Linked DNA regions of Homo sapiens: all the other regions are linked to region 1. The links are contacts of gene promoters, found by promoter capture Hi-C in human tissues and cell types (Jung and others, 2019). All regions are on one chromosome and are shown on one strand. The core of a region is centred on a gene start or on the middle of the fragment in contact, and the rest is flanking DNA. Distances in the headings are between cores, read along the strand shown. Region 1 holds the start of KL (klotho). Region 2 overlaps STARD13 (StAR related lipid transfer domain containing 13). Region 3 has its middle 28 kb from the start of LINC00423.

What was found. Contacts are between HindIII fragments. The study calls those that stand out against the background at their distance.
Region 2: a contact is called between a fragment that was not itself captured here and the fragment with the promoter of KL in region 1, in 2 of the 25 tissues and cell types used here (bladder and lymphoblastoid cells).
Region 3: a fragment that was not itself captured here is called in contact with the fragment with the promoter of KL in region 1 in 2 of the 25 tissues and cell types used here (H1 embryonic stem cells and IMR-90 fibroblasts).

The regions. Positions count from the first base shown.
Region 1 is chr13:33,014,550-33,018,245 of GRCh38, forward strand. KL (klotho) reads left to right here and starts at 1,874. Exons shown (of 5, transcript NM_004795.4): 1 at 1,874-2,710. The coding sequence starts at 1,892. LOC124903151 (translation initiation factor IF-2-like) reads right to left here and starts at 1,904. Exons shown (of 2, transcript XM_047430819.1): 1 at 1,287-1,904. The coding sequence starts at 1,893. RefSeq lists enhancers at 1,478-2,053, 2,054-2,631, 2,840-2,899 and silencers at 1,910-1,979, 2,670-2,769. The HindIII fragment of the contact is 14,739 bases long and covers 1-3,696 here.
Region 2 is chr13:33,116,127-33,119,822 of GRCh38, forward strand. It overlaps STARD13 (StAR related lipid transfer domain containing 13), which reads right to left. Exons shown (of 14, transcript NM_178006.4): 8 at 1,939-2,137. Among named protein-coding and RNA genes, the nearest start is that of KL, 100 kb to the left of the region's middle. The HindIII fragment of the contact is 8,860 bases long and covers 1-3,696 here.
Region 3 is chr13:32,937,766-32,941,461 of GRCh38, forward strand. No RefSeq gene overlaps it. Among named protein-coding and RNA genes, the nearest start is that of LINC00423, 28 kb to the left of the region's middle. The HindIII fragment of the contact is 5,547 bases long and covers 1-3,696 here.

The DNA of each region.
Region 1 (3,696 bases), core at 624-3,123:
ATTTTCCATGAGACCCATGAAGCATTTCTAATTGAAACTTAACAAGCTACAACCCAACAGACACTCCAATCTTCACTTCTAGAAGGGAAATGTGATACTCCATGTAGACGTAGCTTTTTAAATTTAGCTGGAAGACAGCGTGACAGTGAAGTTGTGTGCTGTAATTTTTTAAAATTGCTGAAGTGTCATGGTTTGCTATTTCGTATTTATTGAAAAAATGTAAATGCTATATTTAACAGAATGGCAGTAACTCTGTTTCAATCTGAAGACTTAATCTTACTAATCATGGTAATATATGCTGGCTGGAGTTGGGAATATTTCATAAAATACTGGAATAAATTTGTGCTTATATTTCAGGGGAATTAATAAAAGCACCTTCATCTGCAACATTTAAAATGTTATTGCCTTTAAATTTGTATTAAATAATGCAGGGAAGATAGATCACTGGGGGAGAATGGATGCACCTCTGTGAGGATCTTGGTCATTCAACACACGTGTACGGGTGAGGAAACTAAGGCACGACTTACTGGGTAGGGAGGTAGGGATATTAGCAAGATCCTTCACTTGTCTGGGCTTTCTGTCTTTGAGTCACCTTTGCGCAGTTTTTCACTGGACTTCACAAGCCTCTGAGGCGGCAGGGCAGACAGGACATCCTTATTTTATAGAGGAGGAAACTTAGGCTTACAGAGGTTTCCTGCCCCAAATCACAAAGGTGGAGCCTAGACCTTCTCAGTCTCCACCAACTGTATTTCGGTTAGCCACAATCCTATCTACCCACATCCAAATGGACACTGTGGCTCTGCAACTTCTGTCAAAAGGGCTCTTTGGCAACAGGAAAAACGTCATGGCTCCATTGTATTGTAGAGGATGGGAATGGGTGTTCCGGCTAAATTCTCCCTCCCCTTTCCCTCCACAGCTCAGATGGCAAATGTGCGACCCAGGGACCTCCCGCTCCAGCAGACCTGTGCGCACAACTTTGCACAGATTACCTGCTAAGTCAGAGCCGAAAGGTAACACAGATGCCAAAGGATAATAAAGGTGAATGAGATTTACTCAAAATTGGAAACTTGGTGTTTGGTTTTTCAGGAGAACAATCAACGACTGTGATTTGAAGTTCACCAGGGTATTCTGAGAGATCTAATCAAAGATAGAGTGCTGGTTTGAAATTATTAAAAGGTAACAGTAAAAGGGAGAGCAAAACCCCAGTCCCAACGCAACCCATAAATCTACTTTGTCTTCCTCGAAAGAGGGGCGCGGGTGGGCGCGTCTCCCCGCGAGCATCTCACCTAAGGGGGAATCCCTTTCAGCGCACGGCGAAGTTCCCCCTCGGCTGTCCCACCTGGCAGTCCCTCTAGGATTTCGGCCAGTCCCTAATTGGCTCCAGCAATGTCCAGCCGGAGCTTCTTTGGGCCTCCGAGTGGGAGAAAAGTGAGAGCAGGTGCTTCCCCAGCGGCGCGCTCCGCTAGGGCCCGGCAGGATCCCGCCCCCAAGTCGGGGAAAGTTGGTCGGCGCCTTTTCTCCCCGACGAAGCCGCTCCAGGGCTGCTCTCAGAGGACGCGCGGCAGGCAAAGAGAATGAACCTGAGCGTCCACGAAACGTCCTGCACGGCTCCCGGGAGCTGGGAGAAACAGGTGCCTTTCTCCGACGTCCGCGGGCGACGCCTGCCGCACCTTGCCCGCTGCCGCGCCCCTCCCGGGCACCCCTCGCCCTCGGCGCCCCTGCCCCCGCCCCCAGTGCCAGGGCGGAGGCAGTCCCGGCTCGCAGGTAATTATTGCCAGCGGAGCCCGCCGGGGAGCGGGGGTGGGCGCGCCGGCGGTGGGCGGGCGGGCGCGGCGGGGCGCGGGCATAAAGGGGCGCGGCGCGGGGCCCCGGAGCCTGGCTCCCGCGCAGCATGCCCGCCAGCGCCCCGCCGCGCCGCCCGCGGCCGCCGCCGCCGTCGCTGTCGCTGCTGCTGGTGCTGCTGGGCCTGGGCGGCCGCCGCCTGCGTGCGGAGCCGGGCGACGGCGCGCAGACCTGGGCCCGTTTCTCGCGGCCTCCTGCCCCCGAGGCCGCGGGCCTCTTCCAGGGCACCTTCCCCGACGGCTTCCTCTGGGCCGTGGGCAGCGCCGCCTACCAGACCGAGGGCGGCTGGCAGCAGCACGGCAAGGGTGCGTCCATCTGGGATACGTTCACCCACCACCCCCTGGCACCCCCGGGAGACTCCCGGAACGCCAGTCTGCCGTTGGGCGCCCCGTCGCCGCTGCAGCCCGCCACCGGGGACGTAGCCAGCGACAGCTACAACAACGTCTTCCGCGACACGGAGGCGCTGCGCGAGCTCGGGGTCACTCACTACCGCTTCTCCATCTCGTGGGCGCGAGTGCTCCCCAATGGCAGCGCGGGCGTCCCCAACCGCGAGGGGCTGCGCTACTACCGGCGCCTGCTGGAGCGGCTGCGGGAGCTGGGCGTGCAGCCCGTGGTCACCCTGTACCACTGGGACCTGCCCCAGCGCCTGCAGGACGCCTACGGCGGCTGGGCCAACCGCGCCCTGGCCGACCACTTCAGGGATTACGCGGAGCTCTGCTTCCGCCACTTCGGCGGTCAGGTCAAGTACTGGATCACCATCGACAACCCCTACGTGGTGGCCTGGCACGGCTACGCCACCGGGCGCCTGGCCCCCGGCATCCGGGGCAGCCCGCGGCTCGGGTACCTGGTGGCGCACAACCTCCTCCTGGTGAGTGCGAGGGGCCAGGCGGAGGGCCACGCAGGGGAGACAGAGGGCCTCCACAGGGGCCAGGGGGAAGTGTGGGAACTGAGTCTCCCCCAGACGAGGCTTCACTTGGACACGTGTATGTGGTCACCGGGGGAAACTGAGCAGTTCTGACTTCCCTTGGAAGGCGTGGAATTAGGAGAGAAATCCCTTAGTGGGCACACGAGTGAGTGCCCCTTGGAGTCCATCTGTGGAAAGGAAGCGGTGATAGGTTTCCGCAGTGAGGAAAGAAACTCCTTTCTCTGGGTGTAGAGGAATTCCTAGAGGTGAGGGCGGGGAGGATTTGCTAGGAGTAACTGCAGGAAGAGAATGAGCAGGGTGGATGAAAGAAACACGTTTGTTCTTAAGCCGCACAGATAGCATTACTCTCTGGAGCTGTCACGAGTTCAGTGTTAATCCAATAAGATCTGTCTTGCTTGTGGCACAAGTTCACACTGTTGTGAAAGTGTCAAAACACAACTCCCGGAGAGTCAGATTTAAACTGTGTTTGGAGGTCCCTTCTGCGGCAGGGCAGGGAACTGCATCCACCAATCTTATTCACCGGGGTGTGAAGACCGCTTTATACAATCTCAAACAAAGCTAGTCATAGAAACACAGAAACAACTGCAGGGTGATATAGATTGTTCTACCACATCTATATTTCCACAGTGCTCTCTACAGTTGAAAGGGTTCCTCACTTATGACATTGTTAGCCTGATAAAATTAATTGTAACACCCTTGTGCAAAATATTTTATTAATTTTGACAGCAGGAAATATTGCTATGCCATGGTAAAGTTGTCTCAAGTATTTCTTCCTCCTTTTTTCTCCTTAGTGTTCAAATTTAGGCACCATTGTTTTGGGGATTCATTTATAATCATGTCAGTTGTTAGTACACTTTGTACAGAGTTTTGTATCACAATAAAATATTTTATGTACATGTATAAACATTTTAATAAAAGTGTTTAAATGT
Region 2 (3,696 bases), core at 485-2,984, 100 kb after region 1:
TTATGGCCCCAGCGTCATTTTTCAGTGTCATTTGGTGTCACTTTGTATGTCTGCCATACATGCAAGCCAGATGAATACACTGGGCTCTCCTGACTTCTGCTTATGCTATCTGCCGAGCAGGTACCCAAAATGTGTTCCTCACATATCTCAGCCTTCAGTTGTCACTTCCTCCATGAAGCCCTCATTCTTCATCTCTCCCTCCTTGGACTTTTCTTTGTAACCTTTCTATGGAAATTCTCCAAATTTGTTGTGTTGGAGTTTTTTGTGTTCATGCCTCATCTCCCTCAATTGTAAGATCCTTAAGATCAGAGAGTGAGTCTCATCCATCCATATGCTCTGCCATGCTAAGCACGGTGCCCAGTACAGAAGTCACGCTCTGTAAATGTTTGCTCAGCTAAAATAAAGCCTGCTTTGATCTGGCTTCTTGCTTGTGACTCAGAAAGGGCCAAAGACATTTATTTCTTGAAAGTAATGTGGCTTTAGCCTTAGACTAGTGTCAACTTTAATCCAAGAACTGATTAAATGTAAAAGACTCATATCTGATACTTCCAAACCATAAGGGAGACTTAATTGAAAAATGTAGTTCAACCTCTCACAGCAACAACATCAAGAACTCCCTGTTTGGGCTCTAGCAACTTGTACCATTAACTTAACTTAATCTACTTACTTTGAAAAACTAATATTTACTTAGTGGGTTGCCACCTTAATCTGTTTTCACAAGTGGTTCTGATTACAATCCTTTCTGAGTTTGCAGTATCATGGACTCCTTAAACACATTTTATACAGAATTCTCTATAGCATGGATATTCTTCAAATTGAATCAAGTCCATGTCAAGGTCCATTTCAGGCATATTTTGCTGAAAACTCAAAACTCAAAGTCCATGGGCCAAATGGCTTTTTTCCCCCATGAATTGGGATCTGGACCATCAAAATAATTCATAATGTTAACATTGTCATATCTAGCAAAGAGTCACGTGTTTAATTTCATTCTTTTTTTTCTGAGATGGAGTCTCGCTCTGTCACCCAGGCCGGAGTGCAGTGGTGCAATCTCCACTCACTGCAACCTCCGTCTCCTGGGTTCAAGTGATTCTCCTGCCTCAGCCTCCTGAGTAGCTGGGATTTCAGGCACCCGCCACCATGCCTGGCTAATTTTTGTATCTTTTAGTTAGAGATGGGGTTTCACCATGTTGGCCAGGCTGGTCTTGAACTCCTGACCTCAGACAATCCAACCACCTCCACCTCCCAAAGTGCTGGGATTACAGGCGTGAGCCACCATGCCCAGCCCATGTGTTTATTTCTAATACCCCCATTGCAACCACTTATAGTAGGATATGCTTCTTAATCAACAATTGTTATTTTCAGGGATTATTTTAATTATACAGGCTTTGCTGAGAACTTAACATTATTAAAAAAAATCCAAGTGAAAATATAAATAAGTTTATTTAAGCTTAAGACTTGATTTGGTTTGCTTACTTTTCACCAATGAAGATACTTTGTGCTAAAATACATTTGTTTTTATTTCCTGTCATTTTAATTCATGTCACTTTGAATTTCCTATATCCCAAAGAAATGCTTACTTTTTTAAAAAATTGAATAAGTTTTAATAAATACCTATATATAAAACAACTTCTATTGTGTCCCTTTTTCATTTTAAATTTTTGTAAATGTATTGAAAGTTTGTTTTAGATCATACACAAAACTCTTTTGAGAAGGAATATTTTGATGTCAAAAAGGTATTTTCAAATGCATAAAAAAATGGCTTGTGGATTTCCATATCAAACTTTGAGCAAAAGTTACTTCCGTAGAGGAGAGCAGGATTACATACATCTTTATGGATTGATGTATTATTCGTATAATTAAAACTCAATCTATAGGGAATTATTTTCATTAAAGTGGAAGGATGCCCACGAGAACACCAATCTCATTATTTCCACTTACACTGATAGATATGGAGAAAGGTCTCACTGAGCTTGTTGGTGAAAAGAGGCTCAGGGAGGTCCCGGAAGAACTGTTTCACCATATCCGCCACATCATAAGCAGACTGGTCTTCATAGTTGACGTTCTCAGGGAAGTTTTCATTCATTTGGCGAAGGGCATGGATTCGAGACTTCACTCCTGATTTGCGAAAAAGACCCACCTGAAACAAAGCCATAGGGATGTGTCAGCCAGGCCACACTTGGTTGTGAGGAGGAGGAGGAAGCATGGGAAGGGAACTGGATGAGCTGGAATTGCCTCCCAATTAGTACATGCTGAACTACTAGTATAGCTACTTTAGGCAGTACCCGAACACTGTCTTCCTCTCCTATGAAATGAAGATAAGAATAAAACCCCACCTCACAGGATTACTGTGGAGAGTAAGTGAGGAAATAGATGTGCATGTGCTTTGCGACCTGTTACATCTTATCACACTGCAGATGTTATTATTATTTTATTCATTTATTCAACAAGTAGTGATTAAGTAACCACTGTGTATCAGGCATGCTTAGAGTTCCTAGGTGTCATTAGTGAGCAGAACAGATAAAATTCCCTGCCCTTTAGGGTTTACATTGCCATGGGGATTTTGAGAACGTCTGGTCAATGGGAGGTTTGGTGAAAACAATGTGGGTCGTGGATGAAAGAATCCCAGATAAACAGCCATATCCAGTGCCCCTGCAGGGGAGAGTTTTATGGGGAATATGTTCATGAAACAGACTAATATCATAAGTACATATTTTGATTTAAGGAATTTATTTACTTTTTCTTCTTTGGAATTCTTGGCACTTACTTTTCTACCTGTTTGTTTTTATGCAGTAAGCTATGGCTCTAGTGAGAATGATTCCTGGGTGGCTTTTTTTTCAGACCTCAAGATATTGTCATATCATGCCTTTTTCATCTTAGAGTCTAGACTCCTCCCCTACTTGATGAATAAATGGAGCATTAAGGCATCAAGGACAGAGTGGCCCTAATGAGAATGAGTGAGGCAGAGCAGAGCCCGGCAAGAATGAAGATCCTGCAATGGTGGGGCAGGTTAAGCTCTAGGCCCTCTAGAGGAACTTTCTGTGCTGGACTTACCCGCTATTCAAAAAGGAACTGAACTTTCCTGGGCACCCTGGCTTATAGTGAAATAATATGTCTGCTATTTTTTAAATGCCTATAGGGAGTTGATTTGCTTCAACCCTCAATTTTCACAGCTCTCATTCCCCAGTGGCTCATGGGTTGGCCCACTTCTGCAAAGCAAGGTAGAACCTTCCTGAGTGGCTGGTCAGGTAGACAGTGGCCACTAGTGTCAGCCACTGCTCATCCCCCCTATACCTGGAGGAAAGCCTAATACAGGTCGTCTTACTGATCACTCTGTGTGCCAGGCCGGCCTCCACCCAAGTTCGGGTATGTGACAAAGGCTTTCCTGATTGCTGCAACAAATGGAGAGCAGTCCTCATTCTTTTAAATTGTGGTAACAGCAGGGGAAGGATTCCAAGCCATTAGAGCATACTCAGGTTTTTGTATATGTCAGCCGAATGGATCACAGGGGAAATTATACACTGCTACTTTTTGTGGCCATAAAAACAGAATTCTTAGTAATATTTCTTTGCATTCCAAGGTTTATCGCTCTAATCCCACACATCAGGATATTCAGGCTGATAATATTGTCACTTAAAATATGAGTTACTTTCTTTTTTATTCTTAAAGTTTGGAATGTCTAGAAAATGCACAGTTTTG
Region 3 (3,696 bases), core at 860-3,359, 77 kb before region 1:
ACATTCCTGGGAAACATCTTCTAAGTAAGGAGCTGGTGAGGGGTGGAGGTCCTATGAAATTGAAGACAGCCTTGGCCCTCTGAAGAATATCACAGCCTAACTCCCAACTTCTCCAGCTGCATCTCCTGGCACATCCTCTGTCTCCCAACACATCCAATATGCCAGCCACATTGAGCTGATAATGATGGTATCATGACCCCAGGAGGATTTCACAGAGCTGCAGAAGGGAAGTATGCTCCAAACACTATTTGTCCCTACACATGCTATTCATTTTGCTTGGAATACACTTCATCCCATTATTGGCTGGAAAGCTCCTATTCATCCTTCAAGAACTTCAGCAAATATCACCTCTTCTGTAAAATTTTCTTCAGCACCCCAAGGCAGTTAGTCAATTCTTGGGGCTCTTATGGCACATCTGCTATCTCAATTATAGCATGTTTTGCACTATTTTGCAAGTCACCTGCTTATGTGTCTGCTTCCCTGCTGCACACATTGTTTGCTGCCTATTAAAAACCTTTCCCTTTCCCCGCCCCTTCTTTCTTTCTTTTTTTTTCATATTGGACAGAGATTTTAGTAGATTCTTTGAACCAGTAAGCTTCTAGTAGTTGTTGAGGGGCTCTGTGTGCATGTTAGGGCAGGCCTTTATTGCTCAGCTAGGCAGTTTATACTTCTGTCTTAGATTTCAATTCCTGGATATGCAGAACCTCAGAGTCAAACAAAAGTGTGAAAGCTTAGGTCCTTCTCCGGTCTGAGAACACAGCCCTTGGCATACGCACAGCATTACACATGCACATGACCTTCCAGGAATCTATCAGAGTTTTTTTTAAGCCTGCTGTGGACATCTAATTCTCCAGTTTTTCCTGTTAATCTTTTTGCTTAGCCTGCTGGTTGCTCTCCTAAGATCCACTTGCCTCAAGCAGCCAAGATATTTAACAGTTTCCTCTAATTGTTTTAAACAATTTCCCAGGGAAAAGGCTATCCTGCACTAGGTGAGCTCTGAGTGACATCAAAAAAGACAGCCTTAGGAGTGATCTTCCTGGGAACCACCAGACAGATCAAACAATGATAGTTTTCTGGCAATGGTGGTTTGAAGGAGCTCCATCCAACCCCATTTTGCCACCTCCATTGGCTGACAGGCTGCTGCTTTTCAAGACTAATGCCTCTTCTTACTGATGGAATCTTGATGTTGTTCAGGTAACCAGCTTCAAGGAAGGCTGGGCCTTCATTTCAGCTCCTGGGGATGTATCTTGATGAGCCCAAGCCAATCATGGCAGTTCTGGTTTGCCTGCCAGTAACTGATTTCAGGATGAGAGTGTGAGGCACTTCTGGCTGACGATGAGTCACCTGGGAATCAGGGACAAGGCAGACTGTGATTGTGTAAGTCTAGGGTGGGCCTGAGTGTCTGGATGTCTCCCCAGGGGAGGCAGAACTAGATACTGCCAGTGTGAGGTCCACACTTTCAGGAAGCTAGATGATTTCTAGGTTAAGCCTCCTCCTTTAAAAAAAGAGATATAAGAGGCCAGGCATGGTGGCTGACGCCTGTAATCCTAGCACTTTGGGAGGCCGAGGTGGGCGGATCATGAGGTCAGGAAATCGAGACCAGCCTGGCTAACATGGTGAAACTACGTCTCTACTAAAAGTACAAAAAAATTAGCCTGGTGTGGTGGTGCATGCCTGTAATCCCAGCTAATTGGGAGGCTGAGGCAGAAGAATCACTTGAACCCAGTAGACGGAGGTTGCTGTGAGCCGAGATTATGCCATTGCACTCCAGCCCAGGAGACAGTGTGAGACTCCATCTCAAAAAAAAAAAAAAAAAAAAGGAGAGCTGCAAGAGAAGAACAGGTCCTTTAAATGTCTCTGATGTTGGCTCTGTGAAGTGTGTTATCTGGAGCTGCAGTGTCTTGTGGCCACTAAAGAAGTAGCCAACATGCTGGGATGGCAGAATGGAAGGATGCAGAGAGCCCTGGCCAAGAGCTGATGCTGTTAAATTGTTGAGTGCAGCAACCCTGGAACTGCCAATTTTCAGTACATTTTACCATGTGAGATGATTAATGTCCTTGTGGTTTCAATCATTTTGATGTGAGTCTTCTGTTGCTTGCAGCCAGAAGTATCTAAAGCGTCCTTTGTGGGATGTGGGCTCCTTAAACTCAGGCATCCTGTGTTGCTAATCTCGGAATTCCCAGCACCAAGTATAGAGAACCTGGCCCATGGTAGTCGTTCCATACATGTTTACTAAATGAATGAATGAATGAATGAAGGCCTCGTGGGGTCAAGGAGATTGTCATTAACAGCTTGGTCCACAGGCCCTGAATTAATAGAGCAAGGCCTGAGATTTACATATCTGGATTTGAGGACTGTTGAATGTTGAATCCCACTTCTGCAACACATTCCATCTGAGATTTGGGTGATATTGATTAGCCTAAGTCCTGTAAAATGTTTAATGTTGTTTGTATTCCATCTCCCAAAAAGCCCGACAACTCCTTCAGATGGGTTTAGGTTAGCGTTTTTCAAACTGTGGATTGTAACCCCTTGGTACCTTGTGAAATGAATTTAGTGGGTTGCAACCAGAATTTTAAATCAACAGAATAGACCAGGAAAGAAAGTATCAGAGTGCATCCTATGTATCAAGGATAAGGCATTGTTTTATGAAATGTTTATTTCCATTAGGTATGTGTATATATCTACTGGGTCATGATGTAAAGTATATTTCTTACTCTAGGTTATGGTCATAAGCGTTGGAAAAACGCCAGCCTGGACCAAAGGTCCAGTGTCCCTCCGAGGAATTATGCATGTGCCACAATCCCACAGGGGCTCATAGCCACTACTCCCATTCCTTCCCTCTCCAGTCTCCAAGCCCCATGCTGAGTGGCCCGGCCTAGGAACTGTTCCTTTTTGAACTTTGCTGACTCTCCGAGGAAACAGCATTTTGAGGCCGCTTCTTTTACTCTTCATTCAACTGTTTCCTGTATTCAGCACTGAGGCTTCTGAGAGGCTCTCTGTATCCCTGTGAGTGGATCGGCCTCTTGCTGGCTGGCTGGCTCCAGGCCAGACCACACAGATCACAACCAGGGACTGCTTGGCCCCTGGGCCCAGCTGTCTGTGCTCTGCCCCAGCAGAGACCTTGGCCAGAGCCAGCATTTGGGGATCAAGGGGCTTTAACTATTTAGTGGCCTCCAATTTTGAGCCACATCTTGCTTTGCCTGCTTCTGGTTTGGGGCTAGATCTTGCTTTGCTTGCTTCTAGTTTTAGGCTAGATCTTGCTTTGCCTGCCTCTGGTAGTCCTGAGGAAGAGACATATTTAAGGACAGGACTTTGGTCCTGAGTTTGAGACATCAGTCTGTAGACTGTGTGGAGACTCAACAGCCATGCTTACCCTTTAGGGAGAGGATGCAGAAACCCAGCCCCCATCTCTTTCCCTCCCTATATATCCTGAGTCCTACTTATAATCCCAGTCTCCCCTGGGTCTGCAAATCAGCAGATGTCGGAGGTGCTGGAGAGGGGCATTCTTACCTCTCCTTCTTCCTATACAGTTTCCGTCTGCATATAAACCATGTTTCAGCCAAAGCCAATCTTCTGCAATTTCCCACCTTTGGGCAATTTCCCACCTTTGGGCACTTTCTTAGGCTGTGCCCTTCATCTGAAATTGCTGCCCCTCATCCAGCTTCTACATGTGGAAATCCCATCCATTTGCCAAGG